3 separate regions of the Homo sapiens genome follow, and regions 2 and 3 are each linked to region 1. The links are contacts of gene promoters, found by promoter capture Hi-C in blood cells and fetal thymus (Javierre and others, 2016). All regions are on one chromosome and are shown on one strand. The core of a region is centred on a gene start or on the middle of the fragment in contact, and the rest is flanking DNA. Distances in the headings are between cores, read along the strand shown.

What was found. The method cuts DNA at HindIII sites, captures the fragments that hold promoters and counts their contacts. A CHiCAGO score of 5 or more calls a contact.
Region 2: a contact is called between a fragment that was not itself captured here and the fragment with the promoter of LINC01537 in region 1, in 1 of 17 cell types (M1 macrophages). The highest score is 5.1, in M1 macrophages.
Region 3: a contact is called between a fragment that was not itself captured here and the fragment with the promoter of LINC01537 in region 1, in 4 of 17 cell types (M2 macrophages, M0 macrophages, M1 macrophages and 1 more). The highest score is 6.8, in M2 macrophages.

What each region holds. Positions count from the first base shown.
Region 1 is chr11:72,568,459-72,573,141 of GRCh38, reverse strand. It overlaps LINC01537 (long intergenic non-protein coding RNA 1537), which reads right to left and starts at 2,486. Exons shown (of 2, transcript NR_126364.1): 1 at 2,235-2,486; 2 at 1-2,114. The HindIII fragment of the contact is 19,866 bases long and covers 1-4,683 here.
Region 2 is chr11:72,446,355-72,451,037 of GRCh38, reverse strand. No RefSeq gene overlaps it. Among named protein-coding and RNA genes, the nearest start is that of CLPB, 14 kb to the right of the region's middle. The HindIII fragment of the contact is 936 bases long and covers 2,166-3,101 here.
Region 3 is chr11:72,463,213-72,467,895 of GRCh38, reverse strand. No RefSeq gene overlaps it. Among named protein-coding and RNA genes, the nearest start is that of CLPB, 31 kb to the right of the region's middle. The HindIII fragment of the contact is 531 bases long and covers 2,392-2,922 here.

The sequences.
Region 1 (4,683 bases), core at 1,237-3,736:
GTCGGTGCTAAAAAATGTTTTAGATTTTGGAGCATTTTGGATCTCAGAACTTTGCATTAGGAATTGAGGACTAAGTCTGATATTCTGTCTTACCCAGATTCCTACCTAAGAGGTCTAGGAAGTCATGCCCTACAAACCATACATTCTCATCAGATGGGTTTTATTTGACCCTATATGTTGTGATTTACTTTTCAATCTGACTCTGGCATAACATTATGAGACAAGGAAAAAAATATTTAACCCCAAAATATATTTCCGTGCCATACCTTGAAATTGCCCTGCAAAGTCTCTTGTGGGAAAAATCCACATTCTATAGAGATTCCCCTTCCGCCTTTGTTTTCCTTCCTTTCTTTCCAGATCCAGGAGATAATCAACTAAGTAAGAGCCAGGCACCCTTTTAAGTCCGATAAGAGACAATTTACAACTTGCTCTGTCTGAAGTCTGCTATCTGAGAGCTTCCTCTGCACAATAAAACTTGGTCTCTATAATCCTTTATCTTTAAACTGAACATTCCTTTCTATGGATCCCAGGTCTTTAGACAAACTCAAACAATTGTCAACCAGAAAATGTTTAAATTTACCTATAGCCTGGAAGCCCCCCGCTTTGAGTTGTTCTGCCTTTCTGAACCAAATCAATGTATTTCTTATATGTATTTGATTGATGTCTCATACCTTCCTAAAATACATAAAACCAAGATGTATCCCGACCACCTTGGGCACATGTTCTCAGGACCTCCTGAGGGCTGTGTCACAGGCCACGGTCACTCATATTTGGCTCAGAATAAATCTCTTAAAATATTTTACAGGCTGGGTGCAGTGGCTCACGCTTGTAATCCCAACACTTTGGGAGGCGGAGGTGGGTGGATCACATGAGGTCAGGAGTTCAAGACCAGCCTGACCAACATGACGAAAACCCAGTCTCTACTAAAAAATACAAAAATTAGTCGACCGTGGTGGCAGGTGCCTATAATCCCAGCTACTTGGGAGGCTGAGGCAGGGAGGATTGCTTGAACCCGGGAGGCGGAGGTTGCAGTGAGCCGAGATCGCGCCACTGCACTCCAGCCTGGGTGACAGAGTGAGACTCCATCTAAAGAAAAAAAAAATTTTTTTTTACAGAGTTTGACTCTCCATCAACAGAATGCTGCACCTATATGACCCTCTCACACTCACAAACACAGAGGCATTCTCATGCTGACACATGCACACACACACATGCTCATTCTTTGACACACAGGCATGTTTACCTGCAGACTCCATACAGCATATACCCTGTACAGTACACACCCATACAGACTCATTCTTTGACACACAGGCATGTTTACCTGCAGACTCCATACAGCCTATACCCTGTACAGTACACATCCATACAGACTCCTCAGGGAAAATGGAAACTGTTTCTTGGAGGCCTCCAGCCTGTATAGCTGTTCTCTGAACAGAACTGAGGCCCATCAGTTCTACCTTAGTGAGATCCCTGGAGGTGGTACCTGCCTGATGAGCGGTCTCCCTCTGCAGAACGGTCCCTGGGAAGGCAGAGCCAGCCTTGCGTGTGAACAGGGATAGGCAGAAATGATGCTTCCCTCACCCCTTCTCTGTGCAGGAAATAACTACTAGAGAGCATTGCAAGGCTTGGTGCTGTGCTGGTGAGGGCGGACGTCATGACAGGGAGTGAACCCAGACCATGAAGGGGGCTTCCTGGAGGAGGGTGAGGTGAGGCAGGTCTTGGAGTTTGGATGAGGAGGACGGGAAAGGACTTGAGGACATTGCAGATAGACCAGGAAGGCAGGCTGGGAGGTGAGGAGGTGCAGGAGGCTGTGCTTCTCGGGGCTCAGTCTCCTTGAGACAGGGGTGGGACTGAGGGGTGGATTGGTTGGGGGTGTGCTGAGGAAGGATGGTGAGTAGATGCTATTTTCATAACCTTGGTTGCAGTCTCTTGGGAGGGTGCCAAGTCCAGGCAGGTGAAGGAGTTGAAGGTCTCCTCCGAGCAGGAGCTAAGCCCTCCCCCTCTAGTCTTAGTTTTTCTGTCCATAAACTGGGATGATGAACCCCGCTGGAGGTGGTGAGGGTCGGGGGCAGAGCAGAGCAGCCATTATGCTCAAGACAGGCTCTGGACTGCACCTGGGGAGAGAAGGGAGAATCAGGGTTGGGGCAGGAATGAAGGAAGGGGCATGGGAAATCAGGGGAGGAGGCAGCATGGGTGGTGTGGGAGGATCAAGGATGTCAGGGCAGGCCTCTTACCTGACTGAGGTTTGCACTCCTGGGTTCCCTGTCCTGAAACACAAAGCAAGAGTTGTCCCCATACAGCGAATCCCTGCTCTTCAGCACTCTTTGCAATGCCTCTGGGCTTTCCTTTCTATCCTGGCAGGATGAGTGTTGGGATTCCTCACTGGTCTTAGTTTTCCTGTCCATTAACTTGAAGGATGAACCCACTGGAGGCTTTCAGGATACAGAAGATGTTCTGAGAGGAAGGCTGCCCTGTGTCTGGGCAGCTGTGTGGGAATGAAGTCTGATAGACGGCACAGCCAGATTTTTCTCTGAGGGAATACCAAGATCAGTCCATACAGGAAACAAAGCACAACATCAAGTTTGGGGACTGGTGGGTCAGATGTGAGAATGGGAGGTGTGGCAACATCCTGCCAAGATGGCTGCCACTCTCAATCCCTAAATCACCCCTGGGAGAACTACAGAACTGATTGGGATGCATAGGATTCTAGGAAAAGACAACAGTGTTATAGCCCAACAAGTTCTTCTTGCCTGCTGCCCAGAAAGACTAATGCACTGAGAACAGCAGGTGCTGCAGCAAAGAAAGAGTTTAATAATCACAGGGCCAGCCAAGGACAGGAGATGTTTCTCAAATCTGCCGTCCTGAGAATTTGGAGGGTAGGGTTTATTAAGTATAGTTTGGTGGGCAGGGGACTAGGAAATGGGGAATGTTGAAGAATAAATCACAGGGAGTTGAAGCTGTCTTCTTGCACTGAGTCAGTTCCTGGGTGGGGGTCACAGGACTGGTTGAGTCAGTTTCCTGACTTAGGTTACTGGTCTGGGTGGTAACATCTGGTTCCTCAGAATGCAAGGTCTGAAAAATATCTCAAATACCGGTCTTAGGTTTTACAATAGTGGTGTTATCTATAGGAGCAATTGGGGAGGTTACAAATCTTGTGACCTTTGGCTTCATAACTTCTAAGCCATAATTCTAAACTTATGGACAATTTGTTAGTTTTATAAAGTTTTATAAAGGCAGTTTTGGTCCCCTTGCAAAAAGGGGGTTAGTTTCAGGAAGAGGCTATCATCATTTGTTGTTGTTGTTGTTGTTGTTTGAGACGGAGTCTTGCTCTGTCGCCCAGGCTGGAGTGCAGTGGCACGATCTCGGCTCACTGCAAGCTCTGTCTCCCGGGTTCATGCCATTCTCCTGCCTCAGCCTCCTGAGTAGCTGGGACTACAGGTGCCCGTCACCATGCCCAGCTAATTTTTTGTATTTTTAGCAGAGATGGGGTTTCACCGTGTTAGCCAGGGTGGTCTCAATCTCCTGACCTCATGATCTGCCTGCCTCGGCCTCCCAAAGTGCTGGGATTACAGGTGTCAGCCACCGCACCCAGCCTCATTTTTGTTTTAAAATTAAACTATAAACTAAATTCCTCCCATAGTTGGCTTGGCCTGTGCCCAGGAATGAGCAGACGATGTGCTTGTGAGGTTAGAAGGAAGATGCAGTCAGCTGTGACAGATTTCTCTCACTATCATTCTCAGTTTCTCACTTAATTTTTCCACGGCAGCCTGGGGTGCGCTGGGAGCAGGGAGAGATAAAAGTGAGAACTGGGTTGGAGAGGAGTGCTTGGACAGTCACTGCCTCCCATTTCACCTGTGCACAAACTCCTGATGTGAGTTGATTCAGTGAGGAGGGGCCAGCCAGGTCCCCGTGGGCATCATCCTAGCACTTTCTCTCCCCAGTCCCTAGGATGGGTGGCTCACAATCCAGGGAGATGCCTAGGGCTGCTTCTTTTCTAGATATTCCAGTCAGAGGAGGCTCCAGCAGAAGGGAGTGTCCAGCTGTGGCTGTGGGGTGCCTGGGCCTCACATCTTGTCCTCGCCTTGGTCAGGACCCAGCACAGATTAGGATGCTGCCTTCAGCTCATCCCCAGCACATATTACCAATCCGAGTCATGCTGCCCTGAGGGAAACATTGGTCCACAGGTCAAAAGAATACAACTAAAAGAAAGAAAACAGGTCAGGCACTGTGGCTCACTCCTGTAATCCCAGCACTTTGGGAGGCCGAGGTGGGCGGATCACGAGGTCAGGAGATCGAGACCACCCTGGCTAACACGGTGAAACCCCGTCTCTACTAAAAATACAAAAAAAAATTAGCCGGGTGTGGTGGCGGGCGCCTGTAGTCCCAGCTACTCAGGAGGCTGAGGCGGGAGAATGGCGTGAACCCAGGAGGCGGAGCTTGCAGTGAGCAGAGATGGTGCCACTGCACTCCAGCCTAGGCGACAGAGTGAGACTGTCTAAAAAAAAAAAAAAAAGAGAGAGAGAAAAGAAAGAAAACCAAACAACACAGACAAATCAGGCAGACTTTAACAGATGGGTCCAGAATGTAAAATAAATGCTTTAAATTTCCCTAAAGAGATAAGGGAAGATATTAGCAACATGAAGTAAGAACAAGAAATCATTCAAAAAGAACCATTTGAGACCA
Region 2 (4,683 bases), core at 1,384-3,883, 120 kb after region 1:
AGTAATTGGCCTCCCAAAGTGCTGGGATTACAGGCATGAACCAGTGCACCTGGCAGGGAGTGCCTTTCTTTTGCAGTCATAGGCCTGTACAGAAAAGGGCTGCAAATTCGGGAAACACCAAGATTTTGGCATCTGCCAAAAAAAAAAAAAAAGTAATAATAATAATAATAATAAATAGTGTCATAACTTGGTGCTTTTTTTTTTTTGAAGATAGAATCTTGCTCTGTCGCCCAGGCTGGAGTGCAGTGGCACGATCTCGGCTCACTGCAAGCTCCGCCTCCCGGGTTCACACCATTCTCCTGCCTCAGCCTCCTGAGTAGCTGGGACCACAGGCGCCCACCACCACGCCCAGCTAATTTTTTGTATTTTTAGTAGAGACGGGGTTTCACCGTGTTAGCCAGGGTGGTCTCGATCTTCTGACCTCGTGATCCACCCGCTTCGGCCTCCCAAAGTGCTGGGATTACAGGCGTGAGCCACTGCACCCGGCCAAATGTGAACTACTTTTTTTGGAAAAGTTCTACTGAGAGGGACCCCGAGCAGAGGTTGCCTAAGTAGGAGCAATGACCCTGTCTAGGTATTCTCCTGCCTTCTGAATTCACTGCCCTAATCCATAGTGATCCGAGTCCCCCACTAGGCCAAACTTGAGGGTGGGATCCACTTGTGCTTCATCCCTGTATCCTCTTCTGTCCCCTAGCACCCAACATGGTGGCTAGCACCCAACACATTGAATAATCAATCAGCGAATGAACAATGTTAAAAATGTTGGTGGTCATAGACATGTACTGCTCACATCAGTCTTCAAGGAAACACTTGCTGCCCAGGCTTAGAGAATGTAGTCAGCAGACAGACTGTTGCCGTGAGCTCTTTCAGAGTCTGCTTCAGCAGCCCTTGCTGGTGACTGAGCTAGGTTGGAGGTCAGGGGAACGGAAAAGGGTTACAGAGGCTCAGCCACTTAGTCTGATGCAGAACCGCTCCGACAGTCAATACTCTGGAGTAACTCTGGGTTGTTGATATGGTTTGGCTGTGTCGCCACTCAAATCTCATCTTGAATTGTAGTTCCCATAATTCCCACGTGCCGTGAGAGGGACCCAATGGGAAGTAATTGAAGCATGGGGGCAGTTTCCCCCATGCTATTCTCGTGATAGTAAGTTCTCATGATATCTGATGCTTTTATGAGGGGCTCCCCCTTTGCTCGGTTCTCATTCTTCTCTCTCCTGCCGTCACGTGAAGAAGGACGTGATTGCTTCCCCTCCTGCCATGATTAGGTTTCCTGAGGGCTTCCCAGCAATGAGGAACTGTGAGTCAATTAAACCTCTTTCCTTTATAAATTACCCAGTCTTGGCTGGGCGCGATGGCTCACGCCTGTAATCCCAGCACTTTGGGAGGCTGAGGCGGGCAGATCATGAGGTCAGGAGATCGAGACCATCTTGACAGTGAAACCCCGTCTCTACTAAAAAAAAAAAAAAAAAAAAAATTAGCTGGGCATGGTGGCAGGCGCCTGTAGTCCCAGCTACTCCGGAGGCTGAGGCAGGAGAATGGCGTGAACCCGGGAGGCAGAGGTTGCAGTGAGCCGAGATCGTGCCACTGCACTCTAGCCTGGGCAACAGAGCGAGACTCCGTCTCAAAAAAAAAAAAAAAAAAAATTACCCGGTCTTGGGTATTTCTTCATAGCAGCGTGAGAATGGACTAATACAGTTGACCAAGCCTTGGCCAGGTCTGCATCACAGTTCAGTTTCTTCCTCTGCCCAATCCTGCTCCCTCCCGCTTCTCCTCACAGATATTGATCCCTAATAACCATCTTGCACCCACAGCTCTATCTCAGCTTCTGCTTCCAGAGAACCCATCCTGTGACAGGAGACAAAGTAGCTTGCTCCATCATCCAAGCAAAACAGATATGGGGTGGAGGGAAAGGAAAGAGTAGAAGTTTCATTGCCCACCAGAGGGCCCAGCCAGCACATCTATGGCCAGAGTTCACTCACTCGCCGTTCTATCAAAAATATGTGCTCTAGAATTACACTTGTCCCTTTGCTTTTTAAGGTTTTGTTATTTTGTCAGCATTCTAGTAAGGTTATATTTGAAGGCTGTCCAATATCTCAGATGAATGAAGAAGAAAAAAGAGTTTGTCTTATGCCTGTCCAGTTAGAAAGACTGGGAGCCTTCAAGCTTGGAAAAGGAGTGATGGTGGTCATCCCATTAGCTCTCAAGGAAGAGCCATCTGTGCAGCTGAGCATCTGGGAATTCCTTCCTGCCTGGAGTTTTCCTTCCTCCCTTTCATTTGTTTGTGCCTTTGGTTCAGTTATGTGAGAGTGCACCCTCGCACACATCACAGCTCAGAATGTATCATATTGGCTCAGCACTGTGTTGACTATACTTTCAATTCTTCTCTTCCTCCATACCTTAGGCAAACTTCAAGGATATCTATCACATGTGGATCTTTGTTTTTTCCTAGGAGCTGGGATTTTGTAGTGGTAAACAGTCTGGGCTTTGGATTCAGACCATTTGAGCCCCATTTTTGCCATTTACAAGCTAGGTGACCCTGGCCAAATTACTTAACCTTTATATATATATATATATACATATATTTTTTTTTTTTTTTTGAGACTGACATGCTGCATACTTCACTAGCAAGGCTGCTCCATTTTGGGTTTTTTGAATCTGTAAAGTGGAGAGAATCTCTTCCTCATAGGATTGTTGTTGGAATTAATGTAGCATAAGCAGCAAAAGCAGAGTCTTGCTCATAGTAAGCACTCAGTAAACACGTACACACATTTATTTGCCCATGAACAGACAGAGGGCTACTACCGAGAGACGCAGCTTTCAATGCCAGGGCTCATCCACCATCCCCACCCCAGGCCCCACCCTGCTCTACTAAGCTGGAGAGACGGAGAGAGGCTCTGATGCAGGAATCATTTTCATCTATCAGCTTTATCTATCAACATGAGCAGAGTGGACAGTTCCTCTGAGATCTGAATTATCACCTCCTGACCCAAAGTGCCTTCTCTGTCTTCTCCCTAGCACCAAGGCTGCAGAAAACAAGCAATGTGGAAGGAAGGAAGGAGAGGGAAATAAGGAGCAAGAGAGGGAAAGCAGTTGGCTAAGCTTTGTGCCCAGTTGGAAGAAGCAGAGTGGCAGTAGGCATGGGGTCTAGTAAAGGCTCGTGGAGCAAAGTCTTCATGATGAGTATAAGAGAAAATGGTTAAGTCATTTAGCCCTGGGTTCAAATTCTTGGTGCACTAAGTACTTGCTGGGAGAACCTAGTAAGTTACTTAACCCCTCTGGTTCAGCCTCATTATCCCCTCTTAGCCCCTCCCACTCTACACTTAATCCACACTGAACACTCAGTTCCTCAAACATGCATTGCCAAAAAAAAAAAAAAAAAAAAAAAGAATTGCACTCTTGCCTCTGCTCATTTGCCCGTAGGGTTCCCTTTACCTACAGTGACCCTATTCTCCAAGTGCCCCACCCTACATCAGCTACTGTAATCCCTTTCGTCTGGTCAATTCTAGCTCCTCCTGCAGAGCTCAGCTTAGATGTCACTTCCTTCAGGAAGCCTTCTCTGACCACTCGGCTTGCTATGTGCTCCCAGGGACACCAGAATTATCTCAATCGTGGCACTCACCACTCTCTGCTGACATGGCCTATTGTCTGCATGCCCCTCCAGAGCTCCATGGCTTCTTCATGACTACAGTTTCAGTAACCCATGCCTTACAGGTGCTCAATAAATGAGGCTGAATATTATTGAAACTTTGTAAGCTTTAGAGAGTTGGACAAAAGCCCAGCATAGGCATTGAATGCCAAATAATTTGTTGAGAAGAATGGAGTGGAGTGGAATGGAATGGAATGGTGAATATGCTGATTTTAATGCTATTTCACTGCATTATCCCAAAAGCCCACAAGATGTCAGTGTCTCTACTTGAGAAAAAATGTGGCAGTCTGGATGAAATTAAAAGCACTCCCTCTACCTGATGGCAGAAGTAGTTTAAAGTTAATATTGATATAGAAATAATAGGGATTGGTTGATTGGATTGAATATGTAATATGTACATATAGAACAGAATTCAAGTATACAGTGGAAAGTAAACTCTTCTTCCCTCCCTACTTCTGTCCCTTTTCCTCCAGCCCCACTTTGCCCAACCCATGGGCAACAATTTTTATTATACACATGGGATGGATATCCTTCTAGGGATATCCTAGGTATAAAACCACATAAGTAGATGTATATTTCTTTTTTTTTTTTTTTTTTTTTTTTTTGTTGAGACGGAGTCTCGCTCTGTAGCCCAGGCTGGAGTGCAGTGGCGTGATCTCGGCTCACTGCAAGCTCCACCTCCCAGGTTCATGCCATTCTCCTGCTTCAGCCTCCCGAGCAGCTGGGACTACAGGCACCGGCCACCACGCCCGGCTAATTTTTGTTTTTTTTTTGTATTTTTAGTAGAGACGGGGTTTCACTGTGTTAGCCAGGATGGTCTCGATCTCCTGACCTCATGATCCGCCCGCCTCGGCCTCCCAAAGTGCTGGGATTATAGGCATGAGCCACTGCGCCTGGCCAAGTAGATATATATTTCAAATAACACCAGTGGTTGTATACAACTGTTCTGCGCCTTGAACTTTTTTGTACCTAAAATATCTCGGTGCATTCCATATTAAAACAGTGTTACCCTGTTTAAAAAAATATTCCATTGTTTA
Region 3 (4,683 bases), core at 1,408-3,907, 110 kb after region 1:
ATTTCTCACTCCTTGTTTTACCCATTTGTAATTTCTAGAGTTTCTGTGATTCTGATGTTGATAATCTTTTTTTCTCATGTTTTCTATCTTACAGTACTTCTATTGCATTATTTATTTTATCAATTATATCTTTATTTTTTGAGACAGAGTCTCACTCTGTCACCCAGGCTGGAGTTCAGTGGCATGATCTCGGCTCACTGCAACCTCCACCTCCCGAGTAGCTGGGATTACAGACGTGTGCCACCACTTCTGGCTAATTTTTATATTTTTAGTAGAGACAGGTTTTCACCATGTTGGCCAGGCTGGTCTCGAACTCCTGACCTCAGGTGACCTGCCTGCCTTGGCCTCCCAAAGTTCTGGGATTACAGGTGTGAGCAACCATGCCCTGCCGATTATATCTTTAGATCCTAGGAGCTGGTTGTTCTTTTTCATAGCTTGTTGTTCTTGTTTTCCTTTGTTGTTTTTTTTATTTTAGAGACAGGGTCTCACTCTGTTGCCCAGGCTGGAGTGCAGTGGCACGAACACATTCACTGCAGGCTCGATCTCCTAGGCTCAAGCGGTCCTCCTACTTCAGCCTCCCAAGGAGCTGAGACTACAGGAGTGCACCACTGTGCCTGACTTTTTTTTTTTTTTTTTTTTGAGACAGAGTCTCACTCTGTCACCCAGGCTGGAGTGCAGTGGCGCGATCTTGGCTCACTGCAAGCTCCACCTCCCAGGTTCACGCCATTCTCCTGCCTCATCCTCCTGAGTAGCTGGGACTACAGGCGCCCGCCATCACGTCCGGCTAATTTTTTGTATTTTTAGTAGAGACGGGGTCTCACTGTGTTAGCCAGGATGGTCTCGATCTCCTGACCTCATGATCCGCCTGGCTTGGCCTCCCAAAGTGCTGGGATTACAGGTGTGAGCCACCGCGTCCAGCTGACATTTTTTTTTTTTTGAATTTTTATTAGTGACAGGGTCTCCCTATGTTGCCCAGGCTGGTTTTGAACTCCTGGGCTCAAGCAATCCTCCTGCCTCAGCCTCCCAAAGTGCTAGGATTAGAGGCATGAGCTACCCCGCCCCAGCCTTGTTCTTGTTCTTCATAGCCTCTTGGTTACTCTATTTCATCTTGCAGGCTTTCAGATGCCTGGGAATACTTCTTTTATTTTTAAGAATGAGCCATAAATACCTAACTGGGATTCTAGGAGCATGTACTGGGCTCGTTTATTGGAGGGATTTGTTCTAGGCTGATCTAGTAACCAGCTAGCAAGAGTGTAGATGTTAGAGAAGCATGCTCTAAATATTTGCTTGAGAGACAGATGCCTGCCTGCTAGGGTTTCTGTGTGTGGGTGGGGCAGGAGAGGGTGCAAGAAGGGTACAATGTTCTATCTATAGAACTTCAATTTATTTCCCAGTTTTCATGGGTGAGTCGTCTTTCCTCCTGTGGCTGTCCTAGCATTTCTGTGTCTTAGGGTTCTCTTGGGTTCTCAACTCTGTTCCCCACACACCCTTGCATATTCCACGCTGCAGCTTCCAGCACCTGCCTCACCTGTAACTACCTCTTCATTCACTTTCTTTCTCTTCAAAATGCATTGAAATTTCTCTTACATTGATAGCCTCTCTCTTATTTTCTGTTTGCTGTGGGTTTATAACTTTTTAAATTTTCTTTTTTTTTTTTTTTTTTTTGAGGTGGAATCTCATTCTGTCACCCCGGCTGGAGTGCAATGGTGCAATCTCGGCTTACAGCAACCTCCGCCTCCCAGTTTCAAGTGATTCTCCTGTCAGTAGCTGGGATTACAGACCTGTGCCACCACGCCCGGCTAATATTTGTATTTTTAGTAGAGACGGAGTTTCACCATGTTGGCCAGGCTAGTCTCGAACTCCTGAGCTCAGGTGATCCGCCTACCTTGGCCTCCCAAAGTGCTGGGATTACAGGCGCCAGCCACTGTGCCCGGCCTTAAATTTTATTTTCTATCATGAAATGGGTTCTTATGTAGGAAAAGACACAAACACATATTCTCTATCTTGAACTAGAAGTCAAAAGATAACTCTATTGTATATAAAGACTAAAAAAAAAAAAAAAAAATAGAAAAGGACTCCAACCATTTAGTACCACCTAGCTTCTCAGAGGGAAACCCTGTGCATGCTTCAGTCTGAGATGGATGTGACTATGAACATACTGTTCATGGCTATTCCCTGTCCTGGAGAAACCCATAGAAAAAGGGTTGAGATGAAGGGATCTTCCTGATAGAGTGGATGCAATAGAAATAGCATTGGCCAGAGTTGTGACCAGGGCTCAGATATTTTACAGGATTCTCTCTATTCTTCTCTATTCCACTCTTCTATCCCACCCCAATGATTCCTGAACATTTCAAGCAGAATCTCCCTCTCACTGGGCCCTTTCTCAAAGCTTTTCCATTGTTCATTGGCTTATTTCTCTTAAGAATTAGTCATGGTCTAGGCCGGATACTGTGGCTCAGGCCTGTAATCCTAGCACTTTGGGAGGTAGAGTCGGGCAGATCACTTGAGGTCAGGAGTTTGAGACCAGCCTGGCCAACATGGTGAAACCCCGTCTCTACTAAAAATACCAAAATTAGCCGGGTGTGGTGGCGCATGCCTGTAATCCCAGCTACTAGGGAGGCTGAGGCAGGAGAATCGCTTGAACCCAGGAGGCAGAGGTTACAGTGAGCTGAGATCGAGCCACTGCACTCCAGCCTGGGTGACAGAGAGAGACTCCATTTAAAAAAAAAAAGTGAGTAAACCAACAAAGATGTGACTTGAGATTGAAGCCAGTAGGTTAATGAAGGGAAATCCCAGTAGGCAACCAGTCCAGATTGGAGGAGGAAGGTGGAGGACTCCAACAGGGAGGGAGCTGGAGAATATGGAGTCAAGAAATTTGATCTCCTGGAGTATTTAGAGAAAGTTAAGGAGGTAATGAAAGCTTTGTTCCCTTCTGAAAAGCCATTGTCTTTCATTTCTAAAAAATTGCTTCAAAATCCTTTCCTGGTGAATCTACACTACCATTCTCTCCTCTTCTCTGTACCCATTCCAGGAAATGCTCAGGAGATGGAGCTCTCAGAAGAGTCTACCTACTCAGAACTTGGAGGTGTCACCAGGCACAGTGGCTCACGCCCGTAATCCCAGCACTTTGGGAGACCAAGGTGGGTGGATCATTTGAGCTCAGGAGCTTGAGACCAGCCTGAGCAACATGGTGAAACCCCATCTCTCCCCAAAATACAAAAATTAGACAGGCATAGTGGCCCGCATCTGTAGTCCCAGCTACTCTGGAGGCTGAAGTAGGAGGATCACTGGAGCCTGGGAAGTTGAGGCTGCAGTGAACCATGATTGCACCTCTGCACTCCAGTCTGGGTGACAGAGCAAGACTCCTGTCTCAAAAAGAAGAATAAGGAAAGGAGAAGGAGAGGGACAGAGAGAGGGAGAGGGAGAGGGAGAGGGAAAGGGAAGGGGAGGGGGAGGAGGGGGGAGGAGGAGGGAGGAGGAGAAGGAAAAGGAGAAGAAGAAGGAGAAGGAGAAGGAGAAGGAGAAGGAGAAATTAGGAGTGTGAGGCCTGAAACTTTCTCCCAGGGTTCTGTTTAAGAGAATTGATATATATGAGGGGAGGGGAGATGGGCATTGAGGTTAAAGGAAGTTGGGGTTGAAGGAAAATTACAAGGAAATGGAGAATTACATAATATCTATTCCCCAATTAGCTCAAGGCCCTTCTCCAATCAGCCATTTGATTTAAGTGGGGCTCTGCTCTCAAGTCTAAGGGTGGCCCATATAAGCCAGGCTTAAGATAAACAACACAAAGCACTCACCAATGACCTGACAGGTTAAGAGGCAACACTTGCCCCAAGATGTCCCATCACAGGGAGTCTTATGACTTTAGATGAAAAGTTGAGGCAAAGATTTTCACACTTTCCTACTGGACATGAATGTGGAATGATGTTGCCCCAGAAGTCGCCGACAGTCATATCAAAACCACAGGGGAGAGACACTCTCTCTGCGAATGAGACCAACACAAACTGGGGAGCAGAGCCAAAGGACAGAGGGGATCCATGTCCTGATTATGTTTCACAAGCTCCTGTCTCAGTTACACCTGTAGCCAGCCCTAATCTGGGACTTTTGTATTGCATGAGCCTATCAATCCACTTTTTGCTTACAATGAAAATAGTCTTGCATACAATGAAAATATTCTTAACTAATATAGATTGTATGTATTCACATATTGATTTTTAACTTTTAGATTGAACAGAATGTATTATGGCAAAAGAAGAGACTATCAATGTTTTTATTTTATTTATTTTTATAAGACAGTATCATCAAGCAATATCAGTGTTTTTAACTTGACAATGTTAACATAAAAGCACAGATGCTAGAAACAGAGGTGGAAGATAAAAGGAAGAGTAAATAAAGAACAAGAGCACCAATATCTTAAAAACTTGAGGTCAAGAAACAGCCCATAGGCAATGAAACAAGAAATAAAAGTGTAAGTTAGCATTTAAAGTTACAGAAGTAACAAATAAAGGAACCCCAAACAATGTTATAAGCAAATTGGGAAGACAAGTAAGGAGAGTAAAAGATATGTACCCTAGGACCTTTGAGAAAATGGAGTTCAGTTCTAAAACCACTAAAAACAAAACAAAATTTATTTGACCTCCAATCCTGAAGAAAAAAACAATTTTTTTGAGCACCAAGTAAAAG